Regions from separate parts of the Homo sapiens genome. Here region 2 is linked to region 1. Evidence: promoter capture Hi-C in 16 types of primary human blood cells and fetal thymus (Javierre and others, 2016). All regions are on one chromosome and are shown on one strand. Each heading gives the region's core, a stretch centred on a gene start or on the middle of the fragment in contact. The rest is flanking DNA. Distances are from core to core; before and after follow the strand shown. Region 1 holds the start of CST9 (cystatin 9). Region 2 holds the start of LOC105372571 (a long non-coding RNA gene).

Region 1 (7,939 bases), core at 3,288-5,787:
TCAATTTTTAAGAAAAATCTATATGGTGAAAGAAATCAGGTTGCACGTGGTGGCTCATGCCTGTAATCCTCGTACTTTGGGAGGCCAAGGAGAGAGGATCACTTGAGCCCAGGAGTTCAAGACCAGCCTAAGCAACATAGTGAGACCTCCGTCTCAAAAAAGAATAAAGAAAAGAAAATCATCAGCACAGCTATCCCTAATAAAACTGAAAGGAGGTGATCTCATATGTCTGCAATTTTCTTTCTGGTGCTGACCCTAGAGAAGCTGTCATACTTGTGCACATGAAAACCAGGACAAAAGTGCCCGTTGCAACCCCAATTTAAGAGGAAATGAGTGGAATCAACCCAGTGTAAAATCAAGTCAGTAGAGAATGCTTTAATAAACCACTGTCTGTTAGTTTTCATCACAAGCACCTGACCCTATAAGCTCCACCCTATTTCACCATTCCCAATTAAATCAGGAAGGACTTAATTAACTACAGTCATTCAGGTCAAGGTCCCAGTGAATAAAGCAAAACAGTGGTAATGAAGGAGCTAGAGCGACAAGTGTCAACACAGGTGATGCTCACAAATATGATTTCAGTAAAGGCATAAAGTGGTAAGACATACAGTCATTATTTATGCAAAATGTTAAAAACGTAAAACGTAATGATATATACCATTTTTGGCTGAACTGTTACTATGTGAGGCTTAAAGGAGTCAATGAGCGCCTAAGGCAGTGCCCAGCAGGAGTGAGGCTTATGAAAGAATTCTAGCATTGTCAGCATCCTGAGAGAGAAAGCAACACCAGCTTGTTTAAGCCACTGGTATTTGGAGTTTCTATTATGTTGAAACCTACATTTCACTTAGTAAAAGTGGAATTGTAGGCTGAGGCATGAGGATCACTTGAGGCCAGGAGTTCGAGAACATCTTGGGCAACATAGTGAGACTCCATCTCTACAGAAAATTTTAAAAATAAAAAAGAAGTGGTATTATGACATTTTTGTACTGTTTTAAATTTAAATTAACTTACAGTTTTTTAAAAACTAAAGTACTTATGAAAGAAAACAATGGGCTGCGTTGGATGGGAGAGGCTTCCGTCGGGAGCACAGCAGAAGCTGAGGAAACGCCCACTGAGGAGCGAAGGCAGGTGTGTTCGGCAAAGGCCAGCAAACAGGAGGGCTGCTGAGGGTGACTGGGGCAGCACTTCCTCTTCAGAGCAAAGCTCCTGGGCCCAGGGCAGCACCCCCGACTTAGCCAGGGTGAGGGACCTGCTGGACCCACAGGAAGGAGAAGAAACAGCCCATGGGCCTTCCGATTTGCATGTGGTACGAATGACCCCTGATTTAGGCCTCTATATTTACCGGTAATGTTTGTATTTTTATTTCTCCTTTTGTCATTTTTTAATTCAATCATTATTCCTCTTTCTCAGTTTAAATTTGCCATAAGTCTATATGAGATTAATTCCTTAAATTATAAAAACTCAAAGTCAGCTGAAGACTGAGCTAAGAAGAACCCCCCAGGTGGAAAACCTGGAGGAGGGGAGGGAGGAGTGGAGGGGGCTCTGGAATTCCCTGGCAGCACCCCCACCCAGCCCCGCTCACCCCCCTGCCCCGAGCTGCCCCTTTGATGATTGCTATGACAGCAATCACTGGATCACTCACTCTGCTCTGAGTCCGGGCTTCTCCCTGCCCCTGCTGTCTTCCTTTGATCTCCTGGACACCACCTTGTTTTCCAGCACACGGAAACCCCTGGGAATGCTGGCTTGTCTGGGGAGTCTCCTAGGGAAATGCCAAGCAGGGGGAATGGGGAGGGTCCCGAGGAAGTGATCCCAAAGCCCAGCAGGCGATCCTGAAACTGGCAGGCCCCGCTGAGCCTGGCCCAGCTTGAAACAGGCAGTGAGCAAGGTCGCACGGGACCTTTAGAGCATGTGGCTGAGTAGGCCGGGCAGTGAGGGACATGAGTCCGACCCCGGGGAGAGCACTCAGCTGGAGGGTCTGCGGGAGCTGGGGAGAGCGTCCTGTGTCCCGAAGAGTCACTGGGCTTCCCCTCGTCCACCGCCTCATGTTCAGCTTCACAGAAAAGGGCCAGTGGCTTGGTCCTGGTCGTTGCCAGCATTCTCTAATCATTCAAAGGAATGCGTTCAGAAATACAGGGCCTCGTTTCTGGAAAAGCAGGTCCATTTCAGTGAGGAGTTACTGGGACCTTCCTATGAGACCACATGGGTGTTCGGTGCCAGTGCCAGCAACACAAAGAGAGCACCAGACAAGTCCCGGTGGCCCCAGAGACAGACAGGCCAACGAGTGCCCAGGAAGAAGCTGAGTGAGACAGAACTCTTGCAAGGGGACTCAGGAGAGAAAGCCTCCCAGACCTGAGACCTGGGGATAGCCCTGCAGAGAGCTGTGAGCTGTGCCTGTGGGCTGGCCAGCCAGCCCCTCCGGGCCGTCCGGTTTCACTCTGGCCTCGGCAACATGTTGACCCACGTCTTCGGGGCTCCTCAGCCTGGAGCCCACATGTATTTCTCTTTACCTGGCTATGTCTTGATATTCCCGTCTCTCTCCACCTGGGAAGTGAGGCCATCCCAGGCCACTGGGGATTCAACAAGAAAATAGACACACTTGTAAGGGTCCATGGTGTCTGTACACCCGTGGTCTCACATCTGGGTGTGGGGATCCCTGTCCCCTCCTTGGCTGCACAGTGAGGACAGAGCTGGTGCCCAGGACCCTAAACCACTGCTCATGTAAGAGTGAGTGTGGGCACTCCCTTGGAGCACATGTGGGTATCGGCCCTCAGAATGGTGGGGGAGCCACTGGCAATTGGCAGGATGCCCCAAGTTTGTCAGCCGCTGAACTTACAAGGTGAGAGTGACCTCCATGGGCATTGCAGGCCTCTCTCAGGACACTCGCAACCTATTCCAGGCATCAGGATTCTAGTTCTCACAGCACCTTATGGCCTGCTCATCCCAAAACCCACAAAGGCATTTCCGCCCTCACTGACACCCCCTTCCTACCCCTACGTGCACCATCACTCTCCAGCTAAGAAACCACATTAGTTACGCTTCAGCTGCAGTTCCAGTGAACTCAACGCCATCAGAGAAAGGATACAGACTCCTTGGGTGATGTTTTTGGCACATCTGGCTGCTTTCCTGGAATTGTCACATTGAGTTGCTTTTTCTTTGCAAACAGGGTCTAGAAACAAACTCTTATTCTTTATCACCAGGCATGCTGTCTAAGCCTGTCCCCCATCCTGTGTGCCCCACAAAAGCCATTCTCATCCCCTGACCTCCATGCCCCTCAAGCTGAGTTACTTCTCATATGTGGTTTGGTCTGTATGCACTTCCCAGGAAGTATTCTGAACCTGCACCACTCAAAGTATGGTTCTGAGACCGGGAACACAACCATCCTCTGGAAGCTGGTGAGAAATGTAGTTTCCCTGGCCCTGCTCACAGCTACTGGGTCAGAATCTTTGGGTGGGGAAACTAGGAACTTGCTTTTTAACGTGACATCAGGGGATGCTGGTTGCTTCTGAAGTTTACAAGGAGCTACGGATAAACATCAAAGGCATATTTCACAGGGACAAAGCTTAAGTCTGGTCTGTGAAGAGTGCATTATTCAGTCTTTTGAGAGCCCCATTTGCGGTTGGAGTTGGAGGCTATGTGGGTCTTGGTCGAGAACTCAGAATCTCCACCCACAAACTGTGCCGCAGAGTGCTGTGCCGGCTGTGGCCACAGGAGGGAACCCGTGACAACCTAATGGGTGCACTTCAGCCATCCCTGAGGGCATCTTCGTCTTTCTGGTTCTCCACTGCTCCAATTGCAAGCGGCCACCCGTCCTGGAAACACCTTTGAGGAATAGGGGCAGCCATAACTAGCCAGGCCCCTAGTACCAGCACTTGGCAGCGCGTCCCTGGGCTGGGAAGCTGCATTTAGGGAGGTGCAGAGAACAGGGTTGGGGGCTCCTGCTCTTGATTTCCTCAACCTCTGCCCACGACCCCCAGGCTGGTGCCCCCCTCCCGAGACCCTCGGGGGAGCAGACACCTGCAGGACATCCCGCCAATCCTCCCGGGCTCCCCGCCTCTCTCTCAAGAGGCCCAGTGCTTTCTCGGGGCGCTGTACCTGCTCACCCATGATACTAGCATCCACTGTCATCCCTTTCCATCCTTTTGTCTCTGCCTTTCCACCTAACCTCCCCCTCCCAGCCCACCCCCACTGCTGAGTCCAGGGCTCACCTTCCACTCATACCTCTCACACTTGTGTTCCTGTGCCGGGCTCTGACTCTGGGGCGCCCAGTAGAGGTCTCCTTTAGCCTGCGGAGGTGCTGGGGCAGCTGGGGCTGGGCCTCATGTTCAGGGCACTATCTCTCCCATTGCTAGTCTTTTCCAACCCACCTGCCTGGGTGCTGTTCCTCTCCCCTAAACAGGAGATGATTTAAACGCCTTTGGAAGAAGGGAGGCCATGTGTGGGAGAGACAGGGTGTAACTGCAGAGGTGAGGCCTGGAGGGAGGAGTTTCTGCCCCAGCAGGTGAATTTAAAGGCCAGACCTGAGCCCTGGAAGGCTCCAGTGGACGCCAGGGATCTGAAGGGCAAAGGCAAGGGCTGCTGGAGCCTGCATCATGTCGAGTCCGCAGAGGAGGAAGGCTATGCCCTGGGCACTGTCACTGCTTCTCATGGGCTTCCAGCTCCTGGTGACTTATGCCTGGTGTTCTGAAGAGGAAATGGGTGGTAATAATAAAATAGTCCAGGATCCTATGTTCCTCGCCACAGTGGAGTTTGCCTTGAACACTTTCAACGTGCAGAGCAAGGAGGAGCATGCCTACAGGCTGTTGCGCGTCCTGAGTTCATGGAGGGAGGATAGCATGGACAGAAAGGTTGGTGACCACATCCTCTTCTGGCCTGTCCTTCTCCATCTGCCCCTAAGTGAGGGACCAAGATGTCTAGTCTAGGAGACTTGGTTCACCATCAGCAGTCCATAGTCAGGTAGTCCACAACCAATTACGGTAGTTTTAGTTTTGGAAAACATTGAACTTAAAATTTTTTTTAAATTAGGTAAATGTCTATTCACATGCAAAATATATTTTTCAATCTTCATGATTTTTAAGACATTGTATAACTGAAGAGTGACTTCAAAATAAGGACTTCTAAGGAGATGAAGCTGACAAGAAGAGAAAATAACCAAAGAGACTGATAAACATTTCCAGGTCATAAAATGAAAATGGAAAAGCAAGGACACACAGAGGGAGAGAGAGAGAGAGACAGAGAGAGACAGACAGACAGAGAGAGAGAGACAGAGAGAGAGAGAGACAGGCAGACAGAGAGAGAACAGTGAGAATTCGAGGGCAATAAAGAACACCATCAGCCCTGAGAGGCCACCGTGAAAGGTTAGTTCTCTGATCTCCACCTTCTCTGGGCTCCTTGCTCTGTCTGCACTTAATGAACTGAAGGCCAATTTACACTCTTCCTCAATGGACCTTTATCCTAAAATGCTTGCCTTTTTGATGAAATCATTAAATGTGGTCAGGAATGCACAGTTCATCTGGGCTTCAGGCATGAACAATTAAAATGCCCTCCTAGTGGAGAACTTCTGGTTTAGAGAGAGAAGGAGCATTGCTCTTCCTTTCTCAGCACCAAGAGCCTGAAAGAAAGGCAGAGGGACTCTAGTACCGCACAGAGCTTAAGCTCTGGAAAGACTCTGTGCAAGGCTCTGGCTGGTTCTCTGCCTCCTGGGGTGGATTCCTCACTGCCATCCTCAGGATTCCAATGCTGGTACAGAGGAATTTTCCTCCTTGCTCATTTGCTGCCTCCTCTCAGGAGAATTAAAAGCCTGATGCAACCCTCAGAGGGGCATCTGGTCCAGTAATGGTGGCTGCTAATATTCATGCTGGAACCTTGGAAGTCTCAGAGATTGAGATTGGCCAGGCCTCATGCTTCTGCTTTCCCAGTGCTTTGCTTGATTCTCCAAGACCTCAGTGTAAGCCTCCATTCTTAATACCGTTAGAATAAAATCTAAGCTCCTTACTATGGTCTATAAGTCCTAAATGACAGTAAGTCCTAAAAGCTTTCCACATGGCTTCCTGGATATGGCAATCCCAGCATCAGTTTGGGGGCTGGGAAGAATAGATGGGTGAGAGGGAGGCTATGGAGTGGAATTAAATAGAATGGAGTGGGAAGGAGGGCAAGGAGAACTTCAGCATGCACTTTGCAATAGGGCAGATGGTATTTCTTGAACCCATTTTCCCAGGGTGTGTGCCTGTGTGTAGTGGGAGCGCTGTGTGTCATTCTTCTTGCTGGAGGTCACTTGGAAGGTTTGACAACACACTGTAGATGAGGCTCCCTCTGTCCCAGGGCTGAAGTTACCCTGAAAACTCTTGGAGATCCAACACCCTCCCGGACATGTGGCTCTGTCCTCTGGGAATGCAGCTGCAAGATCAGATGCCTACTGAGAGTGAAGCTGGAGTCTCACCGTGGGAAATGGGGGTGGGTGGAGGTGGATAATGTGTTAGTGGGGTCTGACTCAGCCTGCATCCTCCCCAGACCCACCATGCCCACCTGCTTTTTGCTCTTAACTCCTCAGTCTAGAGAAGATCCCCTGGGTTTCACCTCCAGTGAGCTGATGCCAGGCCCATGGGCAAGCTCTCAAATGCAGTAAAGTGTTGGGGCCTCTCCTACTCAAATGGCATCTTCACTAGTAGCTACTTAGGGGCAGGAAGACGGTGCATCCACTTTAATCTTCTTTTGTCCAACAGTGGCGAGGTAAGATGGTGTTCTCCATGAATCTGCAACTGCGCCAAACCGTATGTAGGAAATTTGAAGATGACATTGACAACTGCCCTTTTCAAGAAAGCCTGGAGCTGAACAACGTAAGACAGGGCATCAGCTTTCCTCAGGTCCACAGCTGTGGATGCTGCATGGGGTGTGGTGTGGGCACAGGAGCAGCTGACAAAGCCATTCCGAGGGACAAAGGGAAGTGAGCCCACAGCAGGCTGTACCAGGCTGCCCTGCTTGTGCCTTAGTGGGAAGCCCAGTGAGGCATTAAGCCCAGGGGTTCACTTTCAGGCCCCTGGCCAATCTGAGTTTCCTGATTCTGCCCTCTGACACCATTGCAGCTGCCTGCACCTGGGCCACATGGCCTTCAGAACCTTCTCTCTGGTCTTCCTCCCCACTTCTTCCCTGCCTTCTAGAGAAAGAGCCTGGAGACAATGGTGACAATGTCTGTGGGTACTTTTCTCAGGGTTTCCCTACCCTGCCCTAGACCCAAAAGTGGTGGAGGCTGAGAAGAAGCCCCACTGCCCTCGCTCCTAGGCCCTGCTGAGCTGCAGCACCTGCTCTAGGGGACGAGCTCCAAGCAAAGCCTGGCTCTGGGAAAACTTCCCATTCTTAGTCAACCCCCTTATTGTAAGATTAACAAATAGGTAACTAATTGCCTAAGTCTGGGAACTGCTTCCACTGGGACAAAACATTCTCCTGCTGCTCTTGGATGCAGGGATCACACCAGGACAGCCTGGGGTTCCCCTGAGGGGCACGGGCTGGAGGAGGAGGCATGGCACAAGTGACCCTGGCTAAGGAGGGAGGGAGCCTCAAATCACGTTGTAGTTCAGGATTGGCCTCAGGCTCAGGCTAGACCTGAAGGCCAGAGCCACGTGGCACAATTGCTGGCCCCAGGAATGGGCAAGGTGGAGATGGAACCTGTGTTGAGGGCAGATGCCACAAGATTCCCGAACCTCCCCAAACCCCGCCCTACTGTCTCTTCCTGTTTGTTCCCTCGGACCTTCAGCTGCTTCTTCACTGTTGAAACCATGCCCTGGAAGACATATTTTGAACTCCTGAACAAGACCTGCTCAGAGGGGCTCTCCTGAGTGGAAGCCACTCACATGCCTGGCCACATGCTGCCCCCTCCCCCGTGGACACCAGCTGTTCCCAGGAGTTGACATATCAGTGGCTGAGCAGCTCCGTGCATATTTGTTCT
Region 2 (7,939 bases), core at 2,965-5,464, 270 kb after region 1:
GCATTTTCACTATTAGGCCTAACTGTTGATTACTATAGAAACACACACATGTAGGACTTGCTCTGTTCTCTCCCACGATGTCTGTACCCCCTAAAGGGTGACTTTCCCAGATTCAAAGTCCAGTGTACAGCCTTCTCTTTTCCAACCCTCCTTACACCATGCTTATTTTAGTTTACTTTCTATTCGGCTATATCTTTATGGAACAGGATCTTGTTTTTCTTGGAATTCCTAATTGTTTTTGTCTTTGTTGCTTTTGCTGTTGACAAAATAATGTGCCTTAATCCCTTCATCTCATGGGCCAGCCTTTCCAGAGCACCCCTCATTGCTTGAAAAGCCCTTTACCCCTGGAGTCACTCCCTAATGATCCTTGGACCTTTCCAGTCTGTATGGGTTTCCTTCATCCTCTGGAAAAGTTATTCTATTTTTTTTATGGCTTTCCCCCATTTACTTTCTCTCCTCTTTCTCTTGTTTTTGCAATTTTGGCCTCTCTCTTGCTTGCTTGCTTTCTTTTTTTTTTTTTTTTTTTTTTTTTGCCTGTGCCCTGGGAATTAAAAACAAACAAATAACTTTATTGTGTATCCTTTCTATTGACTTATTATTTGCCTTATCTGGCCAATTATATCTTTATTTTCTAAGCTTACTTTCATGATCTCATGTTCCTGACTGGTCCTTTTTTCTAGTATTCTGTTCTTCTATTGTACTTTTTGCCTTGTTCCTTTTTATATATAAGGAATGCAATTACCTCTCAAAATTTATGAGAACAAACTCAAGTCCATAGAAACCTCTGGAGCTGAGAATCCTCAGTTCAAATGCTGGCTCTGCCACTTACCAGCTGCATGATCTTGGGCAAGTTAATCTGCCTCAAGGCTTTGGCAAGATCAAAGGGTTGCTATGACCTGATGCACACATGGTACCTGACTTCAGGTAGGTACTGAGTGCATGTCACTGGTGGCAGATTGCATTGCCCAAAGGCGTCTGAACAATTAAAGATGTCCCAGACCTCCTGCTCTAACAACATGACTGACATTGCTCTCACTGAGAGGTGGCGTCTATGTTCCTCCCGTTTAATCTGGGAAGAGAGGAGTTCCCAGGCTAGGTCATAGAAGGTGATGCAGGTTCCACTCAGCTCACCTGTGCTCACTCCCTCTTCTTTTTTTTCCTCTCTCTCTCTCTCTCCCTCCAACTCCCCATACCTCTGTCTCTCTCTGCTCACCCTTGAATGCAGCTACCATGCTGTGAGGAAACCTGGACTAGGCCAGCTGGAAAGAGGACATGGACAGGCCTATTTGGGGAGGAGCTGAGTGAGGCCCCAGTGACAGCAAACATCAGTTGTCAGATGTGCAATGGATGAGCCTTCAGCAGGCTCTGCTGTGCCCTTTTCAAATGCATATTTATTATGCAGCCAGAGTTGGCAGCAAGCACTAAGCTGTGACAGTGCATGAAGTAATTTAATTGGTGAGGCCCATTCTTGCAACTACCTCTGTGACTAGTGGAGACAACTCAGATCCCAGATAAAGGATGGGGTGCTGGGTCAGCATGCCAAACCCAAGCTACCCCAGGGGGCTCAGAGGAAGAATAATGTGCTGGAAAGTGCTCTGTGGCATGTAAAAATGGGTGTCTTCTCAGGATCTAGCAGTGGGACTAGATTTGGGTAGAAGTGCCAAATGAGAGAAAGCAAAGACCCTAAGGATGAGATTTAATGAGGTTGCTGCCCTGTGTCTGGCCTGTCCCCCGCTGGTGCTCCTCTTCCAAGGGCATTCCTGCCCATGGGGAACAGAGGCTTTGGGTAAGGAACACAGCCATCATATTGTATGAACAGCCACACAGGGAGGCTGGCATGAAGCTAATACAGGCTAGAAGTCTCTCCTGGGAGGAGGCTGCCACGTGGGGGTCACAGAGTGCTGAGGGCCACTTGGAAAGTTGTGGATCCAACAAGGATCCTGGGCCCTGGAAGCTCCACAGCATCCCTCAGTAGCAGGCTGTGAAGTATCTGACCTGTGTTATCAGTAGACGGTCTTGGTCTTGACTGCAAGTTGTCCAGGTTCTTGGTGTTTTGAACAAAGAATTAGATAAAATGCACAGCAAAGCAAGGAAAGAATGAAGCAATGAAAGAGCAAAAACAGATATTTATTGAAAATGAAAGTACACTCCACAGTGTGGGAATGGGTGGAGCAGCAGCTCAAGGTCCAGGATATAGAATCTACAGAGTCCAAATGCCCCTTAGAGGTTTCCCATTGGCCACTTGGTGTTCACCCGGTGTAAATGAAGTGGCGGCCTGCTTTCTGCAACCAATCAGAGGCTGAAGTGAAGTTACAAAGTTACGCTCCTATGCAACATCTGATTGGTTGCACAAAGCAACCAATCAGAGGTATTTTCAGTTTCGCATCTGCTGCACAGAAAAGGTGAGGGTTTGCAAAGGGAGTGATTTCTGATCTTTTTGTTACTAAGGTGTGGAAAGTTAGGGCTTTACTTTGAATTTAGTACTAGGAAGTCAGCTTGAAATGGCCTTAGGTTCCCTGCCTCCAGACCCTATTCTTCTGCCTCATCTGGACCACCCATGTGAGGGCCGCTCTTCGGAAGATTTATCCTTAGAGAACAAAGGGCTCAGAGAAATACTGCCTCAAGCTGCACATTGGCCCAACTCAGTTTTATTTTATTTTATTTTATTTTATTAATTTATTTATATATTTGTTTATTTATGACAGAGTCTTTTTCTTGTCGCCCAGGCTGGAGTGCAGTGGCATGATCTCGGCTCACTGCAACCTCCACCTCCCGGGTTCAAGTGATTCTCCTGCCTCAGCCTCCTGAGTAGCTGGGAGTACAGGCGCCTGCCACCATGCCCAGGTAATTTTTGTATTTTTAGTAGAGACGGGGTTTCACCATGTTGGCCAGGCTGGTCTCGAACTCCTGACCTCAAGTGATCCACCCGCCTCAGCCTCCCAAAGTGCTGGGATTACAGGCTTGAGCCACTGCGCCTGGTCAGTTTTTTTTTTTTTTTTAAGTTTCTTCTTGGCATCACCAGTTAAAAGAGATTGAGAACAAGAACGTTCTTTCAGCGTGCCCACACCCCTGCCTGGCTTAACGGGTTTGAAATGTGAGGGGAAGCCAAGTAGCCAGCTTGCCTCTGTTACTCATGGCCCAGTGGGTCGGCTCATGACCCTCAGGCCAGCCTGTGCCACTTTGGTGACTGGTGGCTACTTTGTGGTCAACTCTTGAAGCATCAGCACAGCATGAACAAACCAAAAGTGAAATTCAGAAATGGCTGCAGAAGCCAAACTGTTACCCAGCCCCTCTGAAATCCCCCAAGCACTGGGGGAGCCACAACCAGTTTGGGGGCCATTAGGAACATTTTAATCTATAAGGCTATGTGCTATGGAGGGGTAGGGGAGAGATGGTTGCAGGAGGCCATGGGAGGGTTGAGACCCACAGGCCAGAGTCCAGGCCATAAGACCCTCATGATGAGAATGTTGACAATAACAAAATACTACTACTACTACTGCTGCTACTACTACTGCTGCTGCTGCTGCTGCTGCTGCTGCTGCTACTACTGCTACTACTTACGTTTTAACATTTTTCAGAGCTTTGCTATTTATGATTATTCTGTCCTAGATGATTGCAGCAACATTATGAAGTACGTCTCAGGTTGAGTCCCCTAGAAACAGACCCTGAGATGGAGATTTGCATGTAGGGGTTCGTTGGGGAGGGGATCTTGGGAGTCCCACCTGGGAAGGGTAAGAGAGCAGTGGGGCTTTGATGCTGCTGCAACAGAGGCCTCCACTGGCCCCTGGGGAGCTTGGAGCTTTGGAAACCTGCAGAGTTGAAGCAAGGGTTCCCCGTGTCCCTTCCATAGGCTGCTCATTAGACCAGCGGGGGGTTTGGTGAGGATGCAGAAGGCGCTCAGCCACCAGTGTGGAAGGGGTACCCTGGCCTTGGAGCAGAATCTGAAGAGGACACTGAGCACCCACCACACATGGGCACTCTCAGGATCTCTGCTACAGAGCAGGTGCTGAGTAGTGAGATTTGCCCAGGGAATGAGCCTACCTGGTGGGATCATCATGTGGACCTGGAGGTCCTGACTTACTCAAGACCACTCAGCTACTAAGTGGCCACACTGGGATTCCAGCTAAAGACTGTTTTAGGTTAGAGCTTCCTGATCTCAGAATGGACCCCCTGACCTAAGAATAGGACCCCCCCCCACCTCAGGATGGACTCCCCAACATTAGAATAAACTCTCTGACCTCAGAATGAATTCCTGGGCCTAAGAATGAACTTTCTGACCTCAGAATGGATTCCCTGACCTCAGAATAGACTCTCTGACCTCAGAATGGACCCCCTGACCTAAGAATAAATCCCCCACCTAAGAATGAACCTCCAACCTGAGAATGAACTCCCGAAGCAATAATGGATTCCCTAACCTAAGAATAGACTCTTCAACCTAAGAATAAACTTCCTGACCCAAGCATGAATCCCCTGACCTAATAATAGACTCCCCAACCTAAACAGGAACTTCCTGACCTAGGAATGAACTGCCTGACCTCAGAATGAACTTCTTTACTTAAGAATGAACTTTCTGCCATCAGAATGGACCCTTGACCTCAGAATGAACTCCCCGACCTCAGAATGAACTCCCTGACCTCAGAATGGACTCCCTGACCTCAGAATGGACTCTCTGACCTCAGAATGAACTCTCTGAACTCAGAATGAACTCTCTGAACTCAGAATGAACTCCCTGACCTCAGAATGGATTCCCCGACCTAAGAATGGACTCCCTGACCTAGGAATGAACTCTCTGACCTCAGAATGAACTTTCTGAACTCAGAATGGACTTCCTGACCTCAGAATGGATTCCCTGACCTAAGAATGAACTCCTTGATCATTTTGCAGGTGATGCTCGGGAGCACCAGTAGGGAGTGGGAAAGCAAACAGGGAAGGGAAAGAAGGCCAGCCAGGCACAGTGGCTCATGCCCATAATTCCAGCACTTTGGGAGGCCAAGGTGGGTGGATCACCTGAGGTCAGGAGTTTGAGACCAGCTTGGCCAACGTGGTGAAACCCCATCTCTACTAAAAATACAAAAATTAGCCAGACGTGGTGGTGCACACCTGTAATTCCATCTACTTGGGAGGCTGAGGCAGGAAAATTGCTGGAATCTGGGAGGTGGAGGTTGCAGTGAACCATGATCATGCCACTGCACTCCAGCCTGGGCGACAGTGACACTCTATCTCAAAAAAAAAAAAAAAAAGAAAGAAAGGAGGCACTGGGAATGCTGAGGGGCTCTGGCAAATGGTGATTATCTATCCAGAGCCCTTTCTGAAGCATTGCTCTGCAGACCCGCCAGCCAGGGTTTTCATTAAGTAGCATTAAGTCATAACCTTAAGTAATAAAGCAAGCATGCATAGAAGGGCAAAGCCAGTCACTTCTCAGACCCCGAACCCCTCAGTGAAGGTTGGTGCATGCAACGGGCTGGCCCTTTGGTGGAGACTGAAGAAAGAGTTTATTGCAGGTGGGAATATTATTTAAACAGGGATTGATGGAGGACAAAAGGGGCTTCTGGTTCCATGAGGCAGGAGATAAATGAGATGGGAATCCTGAGTCATGCATTTTATTCACTTCTCTGGAACGAGTTTTGGGGGCTCATTTAGCAGAGAAAATAGGACAAGAAAAATGGACTCAGCTGGCATTGGACAGAGTCAAAGCCAAATGACTTCTGGGTTCTAAATTTTTTTGTTTTGTCTTTATTCATACGTGTTGGTTGTTTGGATTGTTTTTCATTGACCATTGTAAGCTAAATCCATATCAGGAGGATCTGAAAAGCTCATAATAAAAATATAAAGTAGAGACCAAGGGTTGTAAAAGTGGCATTTTACTCAAGATATAGTAAGGCTGTTTTACAATAGTGGGTAGTAATCAATAATTTAAATGAAAACCCTCAAGGGTTAGATGATGATAGAGCTGATGTTCTTCTTATTGACCAAGATGCACCAACCAGTCTTGAAGAGGATCTCGTTTTGTAAAGGAGCCATGCAGAAGAAGAATTCCCAGAGGGAGCCTAATGTCTGTGAAATGTCATATATTGCTTACACAGAAACCAGTTACTCAAAGAGCTATGCTGTTCTTATGCCCTGTGATGGATCTACTGGGGATAGAGATAAGAGCCTGTCTGCCTGCCTCAGCCTGTGCACCTGATCGTTCTTTTCCTGAAGCAACTTGTCATGCCTTCACAGTGCACACCTGACCAGTTCCAAACCAAAAAGGGATGTGCCTGGACGTGTGTGGATAGATGGCTGAGGGAGACATTATTGTTGTTGGTGAGTGAAATTGTTCTTTCTTCCTGGGTCTGGCATTTTATTTGAATGATTCTTTAGAAATTATTTAAAAATTTTCTGCCAGGCAAAAGTTTGTGCAAATGTCAACAAATAGCTTACCCTTACCCAAAAAAGGTGAGATTTGAGGTCTGGAAGTTTATGTAGTAAGGAAGACGCTAATTCTTATGGTTTTAAGATTTATAATGAGAAGTAATGGGGATTTGTCAGCATTGAATTGTGGGGTTTTTAATGAAGCTATTGTGAGAGAAAGATGAATTGACGATCTCAGGATTGAGTCCCTCCTGAAGGAACTTGGTTGGTCAGATATGGCTCTAGTGAACATCTGAGAAACAGAAAAGAAGACTTGAATGTGGTCCTTTCTGTTCTGATACTGTTATCGTCCCAGTCAGTCATGCGTAAAACATCAGCTTAGTCACTTCTTCCTCTTCCCTTTCCAGTCCCTGCCATGGGTCTCTTTTAGTATTTTCCAGTAAACTTTGCTTAGAAAAAACACCAATAAAAATCCTTGCAAATGAAATCATCAGACCCTGAAGAAGTAGCATCTTCTCTAGGGATTGATTCCTTTTCTCCTTCTAACACCACTAATACCTCCCTTGGCCAGCCACTGACACCCTTTTGAGGACTGTATTTTTGGCTTGAAAATTGGCCTGTCAGTAAATTCGAAGGGGTGTGTATTGTTCCAGGGTTGATGTATTATAACTCTGCAGGTGCCCTGCCCAATTCATTTTACTGAGTGGTCACACCCCCAGCTGTTGTGTGTGCTGGCTGGAAATAGCCACATTACAAACATGGTGCCTGTGAGTCAAGGTGGATCAATGCCACAGTGCAGCCCCTGCTCCAGAGCCCCCAGCGGGGCCAGGCTGAGGTGTGACTGCAGCGGATATGAGGCCATCTCACTCCTTCCCTGACTTGTTCTGCTTCCCTCCGTCTCTTCCTCCTGAGTCCTCCCTCCAGTCATGGGCACCCACACCCCTCTCTCTGGCTCTGCTTCTACAAGACCTGACTCGAGGCTCTGCCTTTACACTTGGATTACTGCAAGTGCCTCCATCCTTCTTTGATCTTCTCCAGGTGTCCAGCACCCCCTCCCCTTAGTGCATATTACATAAACTGCTGGACTTAGCTTCCTAAAATGCAGCTCCTGCATATGTCCTTGTTCCTGAATATCTATGGCATTGGTTCTCAAACTTGTGTGCAACCACAAGCAAACAAATAATGCAAGTTTGCTCAAAATGTTGAACTCAAGACCCATCTCTAGTGTTTTGATTCAGTCCATCTGAGCAGGACCTGGGAATGTGAACTTCCACAAGCCCCCACTCCCACCCTAGGTGATTTGTATTTTGAGAAATATACTTTAACACTGATTCTTTCCTGATTCCTATTCAAGTTCTGAAACTGTTTTGATTTCCTTTCTGGAGCATCTTTGAGGTGAGTTTATACAACTCTTTCATCTTTGTGGGAGACAAGCTTGGCCCTATCTCTGAGTATAAGTAATCCTATGTCATAAATATTCGATAAGGAAGAAAGGAAGAAAAGAGAGAAAAAAATAAGGCCAGGAAAGGGGCAGTTGTAGCATGTATGTGGGTGATCATCCTGGGATATGGTGGGTTACCCAGAA

The links. Contacts are between HindIII fragments. The CHiCAGO score rates a contact against its expected background, and 5 or more counts as called.
Region 2: a fragment that was not itself captured here is called in contact with the fragment with the promoter of CST9 in region 1 in 1 of 17 cell types (total CD8 T cells); the score reaches 5.9 in total CD8 T cells.

What each region holds. Positions count from the first base shown.
Region 1 is chr20:23,602,515-23,610,453 of GRCh38, reverse strand. It overlaps CST9 (cystatin 9), which reads left to right and starts at 4,537. Exons shown (of 2, transcript NM_001008693.3): 1 at 4,537-4,844; 2 at 6,720-7,939. The coding sequence starts at 4,590. The coding sequence ends at 6,944. RefSeq lists an enhancer at 7,587-7,939. The HindIII fragment of the contact is 2,472 bases long and covers 3,562-6,033 here.
Region 2 is chr20:23,330,934-23,338,872 of GRCh38, reverse strand. The region is part of intron 1 of NXT1-AS1 (NXT1 antisense RNA 1); the gene reads left to right. LOC105372571 (a long non-coding RNA gene) reads left to right here and starts at 3,006. Exons shown (of 3, transcript XR_937379.3): 1 at 3,006-6,306. The HindIII fragment of the contact is 7,152 bases long and covers 639-7,790 here.